2 separate regions of the Homo sapiens genome follow, and region 2 is linked to region 1. The links are contacts of gene promoters, found by promoter capture Hi-C in blood cells and fetal thymus (Javierre and others, 2016). All regions are on one chromosome and are shown on one strand. The core of a region is centred on a gene start or on the middle of the fragment in contact, and the rest is flanking DNA. Distances in the headings are between cores, read along the strand shown.

What was found. Contacts are between HindIII fragments. The CHiCAGO score rates a contact against its expected background, and 5 or more counts as called.
Region 2: a contact is called between a fragment that was not itself captured here and the fragment with the promoter of MED30 in region 1, in 2 of 17 cell types (naive B cells and total B cells). The highest score is 5.7, in naive B cells.

The regions. Positions count from the first base shown.
Region 1 is chr8:117,517,211-117,522,278 of GRCh38, forward strand. It overlaps MED30 (mediator complex subunit 30), which reads left to right and starts at 3,503. Exons shown (of 4, transcript NM_080651.4): 1 at 3,503-3,843. The coding sequence starts at 3,667. It overlaps LOC105375716 (a long non-coding RNA gene), which reads right to left and starts at 3,510. Exons shown (of 7, transcript XR_928569.3): 1 at 3,344-3,510; 2 at 1,829-1,967. The HindIII fragment of the contact is 1,953 bases long and covers 3,145-5,068 here.
Region 2 is chr8:117,384,496-117,389,245 of GRCh38, forward strand. The region is part of intron 4 of LOC105375716 (a long non-coding RNA gene); the gene reads right to left. Among named protein-coding and RNA genes, the nearest start is that of MED30, 130 kb to the right of the region's middle. RefSeq lists an enhancer at 3,584-4,750. The HindIII fragment of the contact is 5,963 bases long and covers 262-4,750 here.

The sequences.
Region 1 (5,068 bases), core at 2,253-4,752:
GGTGCGATCTCGGCTCACTGCATGCTCCACCTCCCAGGTTCACGCCATTCTCCTGCCTCGGCCTCCCGAGTAGCTGGGACTACAGGCGCCCGCCACCATGCCCAGCTAATTTTTTTGTATTTTTTAGTAAAGACAGGGTTTCACCATGTTAGCCAGGATGGTCTCGATCTCCTGACCTCGTGATCCACCCGCCTCGGCCTCCCAAAGTGCTGGGGTTACAGGTGTGAGCCACAGCACCCAGCCTGATGCAGGCTATTTTAAGTAGGGTGGCCAGAAAAGGCCACTGTAAACAAAGCCTGGAGAGATAGCTGAGAGAAGAGCTTCCCAGGCCAAAATAAATGAGTCTGAAGTGAGATGAACTTGGAGTGCACAAGGAATAGTAAGGAGGTGTATGTATCTGGAGTGAGGGGAGAGCTGTGGGAACTGAGAGAGCAGGAACAGCCTAGGCCAGCACATGTGGAGGTGTGCAGGTCATGCAGCTTTGGATTTTATTCTAAGCACGATGAGAGGACAGGAGAGCAGGGGAGAATCATAACCTGACTTAGCTTGTAAGTTTGCCTGTGGGTGCTGTAATGAGTGTGGACTGGATGGGGCAAGTGTAGCAGGAAGGGAGTTCAATTAGGAGACTCTTGATTGTTATCCAGCATTCTAAATAAGAGAAGACAGCTTGGACTAGGTTGAAAGGGGTGAAGTAATTGGTCACATATAGGATATATTTGAAAGTCAGAGTTCATTCTATTTTCTGATGACTTGGAAGTAGGGTGGGAAAGAGAGAAGCCAGGATGGGCAACTAAATGCATGGTGGTGCCAGACAATGACATGGGAAAAGTGTGGTAAAGAAGGTTGGGAGGGATCAAGAGTTGGGTTTTCTTAGACATAAGTTTTAGATGCCAAATAGCCATCCAAGTCAAGATGTCAGGTTTTTAGGTATGTGAGTTTGAATTTAGGGACAGTTTGGATTGGCGGCATGTGGTAGGCAGATTTTAGTTACTCCCCGAAGATGTCCACATCCTAATTCCCAGAGTCTGTATGTCATGTTACATGGCAAGGGGCGATTAAGGTAGCAGACGGAACTGAAGCTGCAAAACAGCTGACCTTAAAATAAAAAGATATCCTGGATTATCTAGGTGGACCCGATGTAATCAAAATGATACTTAAATGAAAGAGAGGCAGAGGACTCAGAACCAGAGATATGGCATATTCAACTAGCCAATTCTGGCTTTGAAAAGGATGAAAGCTGGTTTTTGCAGTTGGTGGAAGTGGTCATGAGCCAAGCAATTGCGGCAGCCTTCTAAAATCTGGAAAAGACAAGGAAACAGATTCCTTCTGAGAGCCCCCAGAAGGGAACACAGCCCGCCAACACCTTGAGCGTAGTTCAGCGAGAACAATTTCAGACTTCTGAGCTAAAAAGCTATAAAATAATAAAAGGTGTGCTGTTTTAAGCCACAAAGTTTGTGGTAATTTGTTACATGTGCAATAGGAAATTAACATAAGGCATAATTTCTCGGAAACTTATTTTTTCTTCAGTGTATCCTGTCTTGGTAAATGACATAAACTTCACCTGAAGTTTCACATGAAAGCAGAAATACGTGCCATCCTTAATTCTTTCCTCTCCTTAATGTTCCTGATCCAGTTACTATCAAGTTCTCTAGATTCTACTTACTAAATATTTATTCAAAGTTACCCTCTGTCTCCTTTCTCTGCACAGGTCATGATCATCATCATCATTCCCCTTTGGGAGAGAAGACAATAGAAACCCACCATCTGTTCCCCATTTAGCAACCAGAATAAGTGTTCTAAAATGAATATTTCAAATTATTCCTCTCACCTTGAAACTCTTCAATGGCTTGCTATTTCACTCCATAAATTCTCAACTGCTTGACATGGGTTAGAAGATCCTCCAGGGTTGCCTCTGTCTTCAGCCTTATTTCCTAACACTCGTCCTCACACTGAACTTCTTCCAGATCCTAGAAAGCATTAGGAGGCCTCTTCACTTCAGGTGTTGGCACTGGCCTTCCTCGTCCTCATAGAAAAGACTCTATCATTCGTTACTCCCTTCCCTATCCACCTTCAGGTTCCACACTGCTCCCTTCAGGTCGTTCTCAATCTCCTAAATTGTTAGCACCCTGATATCAGGAACTTTTGCTTCAAGACGCTCATCACAATAGTGTTCTGTTTGTCCCCATGACAAACATGCTGCAGGGCTTTTGCCTGGTTTGTTCAGTACGCTATCTTCACTCCTAGCACCCAGCACATAATAGGTGCTCAGCCAATATTTGTCGAATGGTAATTACCGAAGACCTGCGAATTACTATGTTTAAAATCTCTACCAGGGTTCCTATGACATATTTAGTAACTATTTCCTGGAAAGTCCGTACAATGGAGCATTCAGATACTTCTAAAAAATGCAATGTTTGTGCCTATCACTAATTTTACATTCTTCACTTTTCCCCACTTTGGAGATGAACAGTAAGTGAGAGACATTGTGAGAGACATTTTAATTTCTCTTGCATTTATCATGTCACTCAACAATCATTCAATAAGTATTTATTGATACTTGTGCCAATCACTAGGTGTTGAGAATAAGTGAATAAAATAGTCTGTTTTCATGGAGTTGGCAGTGTGTGTAGATAGGGTGAGATAAAGTCTGAAAGTAAACAAACTGAAAGCTATATAAAATATCAGACAGTAGGCCGGGCGCGGTGGCTTATGCCTGTAATCCCAGCACTTTGGGAGGCCGAGGCGGGCGGATCACGAGGTCAGGAGATCGAGACCATCCCGGCTAACACGGTGAAACCCCGTCTCTACTAAAAATACAAAAAATTTGTCGGGCGTGGTGGCGGGCGCCTGTAGTCCCAGCTACTCGGGAGGCCGAGGCTGGAGAATGGTGTGAACCCGGGAGGCGGAGCTTGCAGTGAGCCGAGGTCGCGCCACTGCACTCCAGCCTGGGTGACAGAGCGAGACTCCATCTCAAAAAGAAAAAGAAAAAAAAATCAGACACTAATAAGAGCCAGAGTCAGAAAGAAGTGTGTGTGTTGATCATTTTTTTTGCTTACAGATACTGGGAAAACTCAAAGAATAAAACATCTGAGCAGGGACCAAGAGCAATCGGGGAGTCCGTATCATGTCACAGAGAAGCGTACAAGCTTAGGAATCTTGTTTTCTGAATTCGAATCGCAGGTTGCCAGTTACACCTGTATGCGACTCAACAAGTACTTTAACCTGTCTCTTAGCTGTTATACTACAAACCTCAGGCTTGTTAAGAGAAAATGCTCCGCAAGGAACTAAACACAGAAGGTTCTAACGCTGAGCCAAGACTGGGAAACGAACTCTGGGAACTCACCCCAGGCTCCCCAAGAACATCGCCCCTCTGGCTGGAGCGCAATTGGTGATTGGCTACTTAACCCGTCCGTCCTTTCCCGCCCAGGGGTCCAATCCAATCCAGCCCGGCTCCGCTCGGAGACAGTTCGCCGAGTGGGCGGTGTCTATGACGTTTTCTGACGTGTTACGTCACAGTGGGCGGAAGTCGCGGCCGCTGTTTTGAAATCGGGCCGCGGGGGGTCTCTCAAGCTGGTTCCAACGCTGAGGCCCCACAGCCTCCCAATTCCGGGCAGACCCCTGACACCTGCTGTCTGGCCCCTTCCGGCCTGAAGCTGCAGCCGCGCCATGTCCACCCCTCCGTTGGCCGCGTCGGGGATGGCGCCCGGGCCCTTCGCCGGGCCCCAGGCTCAGCAGGCCGCCCGGGAAGTCAACACGGCGTCGCTGTGCCGCATCGGGCAGGAGACAGTGCAGGACATCGTGTACCGCACCATGGAGATCTTCCAGCTCCTGAGGAACATGCAGGTAGGAAGGCGGGCGCGCGAGGCCAGGGGGATGCAGCTGGGAGGGAAAGGGCCTCTGGTTTCCTCTTTACGTGGGGCCCGTGGATGTCATCGGGGCTGCCCTGGGCAAACCTTAGGTGTAGGGTCTCCCCCATTCACACTCAAGAGTGTCCCCAAAAGTCGGATTTGTAGAGGTGATGTTTTCCAGACCAGATTTCTGCAGAATTGAAGCCAATTTTTTTTAGATTCAATCGAGCTCTTTAGTTACTCTGTAAACTCTTGCACCTTTCAAGGCAGAGATGGGTCGCACTCCACTTCCCTCTTTAGGTTGCTTTAAATGTTTTTTCCAGCATTTCTTCTGGGGAGGTCCAAGGAGTTGAAGAATTTACATTTTTTTTAAAAAAACAGTCCTCCTTTTTTTGGCATAGTTAATATACAGTAAACTACACTCACCTAAAGTTTTGATATATATGTGTACTGTAGTCTGTATACTTGTGAAATTATCACCACAATCAAAATAGTGTACACATCATCCCAGAAAGTTTCTTCATACCCCTCTGACATCTTTGCTTCCCACCTTCCATCGCTAAGCAACCATTGATCTGCGTTCTGTAATCATAAATTAATTTGCATTTGCTAGGGTTTTATATAAACGGAGTCTACAGTATGTGGGCTTTTTTTTTTGTCTGAGATCCTTCACTAAGAATGCATCAATAATTTCCTTTTTATTGCTGAGTAATGTTCCATTGTATCCATGTATCACCATTTGCCTACCTTTTCTTCTGTTGATGGACATTTGGGTTGTTTCCACTTTTTGGCTGTTGTAAATAATGCTGCTATGAACTTTTGCTGACAAATTTTTGTGTGAACGTATGTGTCATTTCTCTTGGACAGATTCAGGAGTGGAATTGCTGGATCATGCAGTACATGTCTGTTTAATACTTTAAGAAACTTTTCCAAAGTGGCCTGAGCCATTTTACGTCCCGATTATTGCTAGTGGGAATGTAAACATTGCTGTTTGAGGGTTCTAGTTTCTCCTCATCCTCATCAACACCTGTTATGTCTTGATGCTTTCCAAATACTTCTCCCAGTCTATCCTGCCTTTTTATTCTCTTAATACTGTCTTTTGAAGAACAGACATTTTAAATTTTGATGGAATCCAGCTTACTGATTTGTTCTTTTATAGATTTTGGTTTTGCTGTCATACCTAAGAAATCTTTGCCTAACCCAAGGTGACAAAGGGTTTC
Region 2 (4,750 bases), core at 1,993-4,492, 130 kb before region 1:
TTGGCACAGTAGAGAGTAGTCTACTGTTCAGGAGTAAGTGGAGTGCCAAGGGCATCCAACATTTATGCTTTTTACAGGGGAAAAGAAGAACATTGATTAACCCATCATGATAGTTAAGTAGAGATTGGTTAAAAGAGCTTTTGTTTTACATTCTTTTATTTCACACTCTTAGCACATTACCAGGTACATATTAGGAGCTCAATAGATGTTTGTTAAAGAAAATAACTCTATAAATACTTCTAGAGCTCCTACTCTGGGCAAAGCTTTGTCCTAATCACTGAGGGGGAAACAAAGAAGTATAAATTTTCTTTTCAGCTTTCACAGAGCTTATGTGTAACAAGGGAGTATATTAATTAAAAATTGCCTCTGGCTGCCAGTAACAGAAAGCTGAAATAACAGTGTTTAAACGAATTAGGTGCTTATTTGTTCACATAACATGAAGCCCCGAAGTTTAGCAGCCCAGGACTAGTATAATCATTCAGTGAAATTGTCAGAAGTCAAGGCTCCTTCTATCTTCCTGCTTTATCATCCTACAGCACACTTTCTGCCTTCAAAGCCACCTTACGGATTGTATTAATCAGAGTTCTCCAGAGTAACAGAACTAATAAGATATGTGTACCTATAGAAAGAGATTTATTGTAAGAAACTGGTTCATGAGATTATGGAGGCTGAGAAGTCCCAAGATTTGTAGTCACCAAGCCTAGGAGAGCTGATGGTGTAGTCTTAGTTCAAAAGTCAGCAGGCTCCAGACCCCAAAAGAGCTGACATTTCAGTTTGAGTCCAAAAGAAGGAAAAGGTTCTATTCTGGTCTTTAGCTGATGGGAGGAGGCCCATCAACATTGGGGAAGGCAATCACTCAGCCTACCAATTCAAATGTTACTCTCATCCAGGAACACCATCACAGACATACCCAGAATAACATCCAGCTGAATGCATGGGCACCCTGTGGTCCAGTCAAGTTGACACACAATTAACCATGACATCAATCCAGTTGGTTGCTACAGCTCCAAACCTCAGAACCAATTATCAGATTTCAGGGAGGAGAAATGTATACTAAGGGACACATTTGTCAGTGAGTTAATAAACTTTTGAAACCTTACTCTACTTTTCATGTAACTTCTTGTTGACATATCATTGGCAAGAACCAATTATAATTTCATGGGCACACTTAGCTGAAAAAGAGCTGGGGAAATATCTTCTTTAAACTGAAATCACTGTCACCCAATATTAGGTTGGTACAAAAGTAATTGCGGTTTTTGCCATCCCTTTTAATGAAAAAATTGCAATTACTTTTGCGCCAACCTAATAAAACTGGGGTTCTATGACTAATGAAAAAGAGCAAACTGACATTGAAGAGGGCTACCAGCAATCTCTTCTACAGGGAGCTAAATTGTGTGAAACTCCAAATTCTTCATGAGGACTTCAGACTAAGAGCAGACATGAAGCCTTCCTTAAAAATAATTAAATGCAAGTTCATGCAGAGGAAATTTAATAGAGAAGAACATTTATTGCCCCTCAACATGAAGCAGAGAGTCAAATGGGCACAGAATAATAAATGGTTTGCTTCCTAAAAACCTCATTATTGCCTTATGTTTTTCAAGATCATCTTCATTGGTAAAAGGTTTTCATTCAACTTCTAATTAAAATTCTAACGTTCAGAAGCCACTTTAGTCTGAAAGGCAAAGCACAAATGGTTTAGGATAAAAAGATGCCCCATGTCATGACACATTTCTTAAGAATGACTACAACAGCATTCCCCTGAAGTGTGAATGTGACTTTAGTCTTACCACATACATGGCCCAAAGAGTAGAATTCCAAAGCATCTAAATAAATTGGAGCCCCCAGGAGTGATAAATACTACGTTTGTCTCACTGCCTTCCTCCCTTTGACAGCCCTTCTCCTTGTTAATAAGCATTTTTTAGGTTCTTAACCTCGCAACAAGCCTTGTTTCTCAGATCACTAATGATTACCCCCTCTTGCAGTGACATGCTCAACAAACACTCCATTTCAGATCCTGAAAAACTTGTGAAAATGAAACAACACCAGATTTTCTCACTGACATCACCCTGCTTCTAGTGACAGATCTGAAATGCCTGTGCATGCTAAATTTAGTGTTAAAAAAACTTTAGCTGGTGTTCAAACTGTCAGAAACGCTGTGGAGGGCCCTGACTTGTAAGAAGATGTGGCTTATTGTTTTGACAATTCTAGTTTTTCCTCCTTCTATGTCCTGCAAGGTTTTAAAAACACAGGTGAGATAAGAGTAAAAGATTTTCCATCTTCCCTTTGGATCAACAATTCTCATCCTTTGGGGAACTCACCTTTTGCTTTATTCTATGATACACCTTTCCTTTCACCTTCTGAAGACATTTTATGGCAGGAATTTATTGTTTCAATTTCAATTAATTTTGTTTTGACAATCTCTTGACACTATTTTATGGTTGAAGACACCCTGGGGTGTGGCAAAACCAAGATTGTGAATTACTGATCCCTTTGTTCAAAGAAAACAGTTTCCCTTTTATGAGAAGGCCAAGATAAAAAGGACTAGAAGGCAGTAAATTGAGACTGCAAATTCTCTAACAGGACTCCAAATTTGTTATTAACTCTGCCTTCCTTAATGGAAAATATAGAAGAGAAAATTGCAACTGATGAAGAATGGTTTAAACTCCTGAAAAAACTTGAAAGGATTCTGGATTTTTTTTATTTTTAAGAGAAATTTTATTTCTTTTTTCATGACAAAAATAAAAGAGAGGAAAAGGAATGTCTCTAAAATTTGTGAAGCATTATGACAAGGAGATGCTTATATCATTAATCTCAAGGCTCTATGGTGTAGTAACATTATTTTCAAACTGCTGCTTGGAACCATTTACACAAGAAGAATATGTTAGGGGATTTAAGGGAGGGGTCACTATCCTGGAGGCTTGGACGAGAGAAGATATACATACAGAGACACACAGAAACAAAAGGAACACAAAACTGTGAGTAAGAAACTTATTTTATTACTTATTCTTCCATTAACCAGCTTTATAATTATGGGCAAGTCAGTGCTTGTCTGTCAAATGAGAAGGTTAGATGATAATGAGGTCCCTTCAAGTCCTAAGTTCCATGCTTTTAAGACTTTTATAGTTTCAGTTCTACAGAGAAGAGGGGAGAAACAGACTTTGGAATTGCAAGAATTATAATGATCTTGGATGAAAGCAGGTCGTCCTTCATTATGAAACCCTCTTCTGGAATACAATTAAAGATCAGGTGAGGGGAGGAAAGAAATGCAGAGGAAATTTAATAGAGAAGAACATTTATTGCCCCTCAACATGATTTAGAATAACTAAATTTATTCTGCCTGTACCTGAAGAGAATATTGTGACTTTGGAGATGGATTCAGTCTTCCTATTTAGCTACATATTGAGATAATATATTCATTTTTGTGTCCCCAGTGGAACATGGCTGGAGACAAGAATAGAAAGGAGATCACCCAAAAGCACACTCAGCAAAATGCTCCATGCTTCCAGGCCCCGGGGGGAAGTCTGGTTAAAATTCATGTCCAAGTGGCCCTGGAATCAGGGACATAAGCATAGAAAATTGTCTGTAGAAACCAGTGACCCTCTAACCATAACAAAGCAAAAGAGTCAGGAAGACGTTTTCCCCATAGGCTGGGACAATGCAAAGTGCAGGCATTTCTAGAGCAGTTATGTTGCTTTCTTTGTTCATCTATTCATTCTACCAGTGAGTATTTGTTAAATATCACGCTCTGTGAGAGACGCTACTGAAATGCATAAAGGAAAAAGGAATCATGAAGTATCCACATTTTATAGGTGGAGGCATTTTCACAAGCAGAATAACATGTCAAGTGCAGGGATAGGGAGGTATATGGTTTCCTGTAGTTGCACAAAGAGAATATTCACCATCCAGTTTGCAGTAGGTCATCAGAAGGCTTCCTGAAATAGCTGATATTTAAAGAAATTCTTAAAGTGAGTAAAAAATAGCTATTGAAAAGACCTGAGAAACTGGGGGCAATATTACCCCAGGAAGAAGAAAAGTGTACAGGTGAGAATCTGCATAGCCAGGCCCGAGGACAGTGGAAGGACTGTTAGTCACGAAAACCCTCCCAATGATTCATTCTCTGCCTCACCCTCTGTGAGCCAGGGTGTGGTTAGGATGGATGTGGTGAGTAAGATTGGGTGCCCTGGAGGATTGCTTGCACCTGAACAAGGCAGAAAGCATCTCACCCTTTTCTTTCTTTACCTGAGGAGTGAAAGTGAGTAGTCAAACACATTTCTGAGCTCTGTCACAGCTTTATTTTTCTAAATCTTACTTCTGACAGTCTTCTGCTTAAAACCTAATCATCTGGTTTTTCTAGATTTACATAGAATAATGGCTGCCTCTTAACTCTAATTCTTTCTAAATATTCACCCAAAACCCACCTGGATAAATAAAATCAGCAAATAAAACGACCCATAATCTATGCTTTCTGCAGGAAACAGAAAATACAATAATGTGAGCTTAAAACACTGGCAAGTAGGGAAATTTTTTAAAAATCCAGTTTAGGGGAAGAGTAAGGCAGAGATATGAAAGAGGCCAAAAGAAGGAGGAAAGAGGAGCAGGGGCCACAGGAGAAATAGGGTAACAGAATCCAAATAGAATTCCCTCCAAAAGCTAAATCCCCACCATGCAGTGGAAAATACCAAGAACAAATGTAGAATCTGGTAGATCTGAGTACTGGCTAGAAAGAAAGGAAAACAAGAAAGAAAGGAGA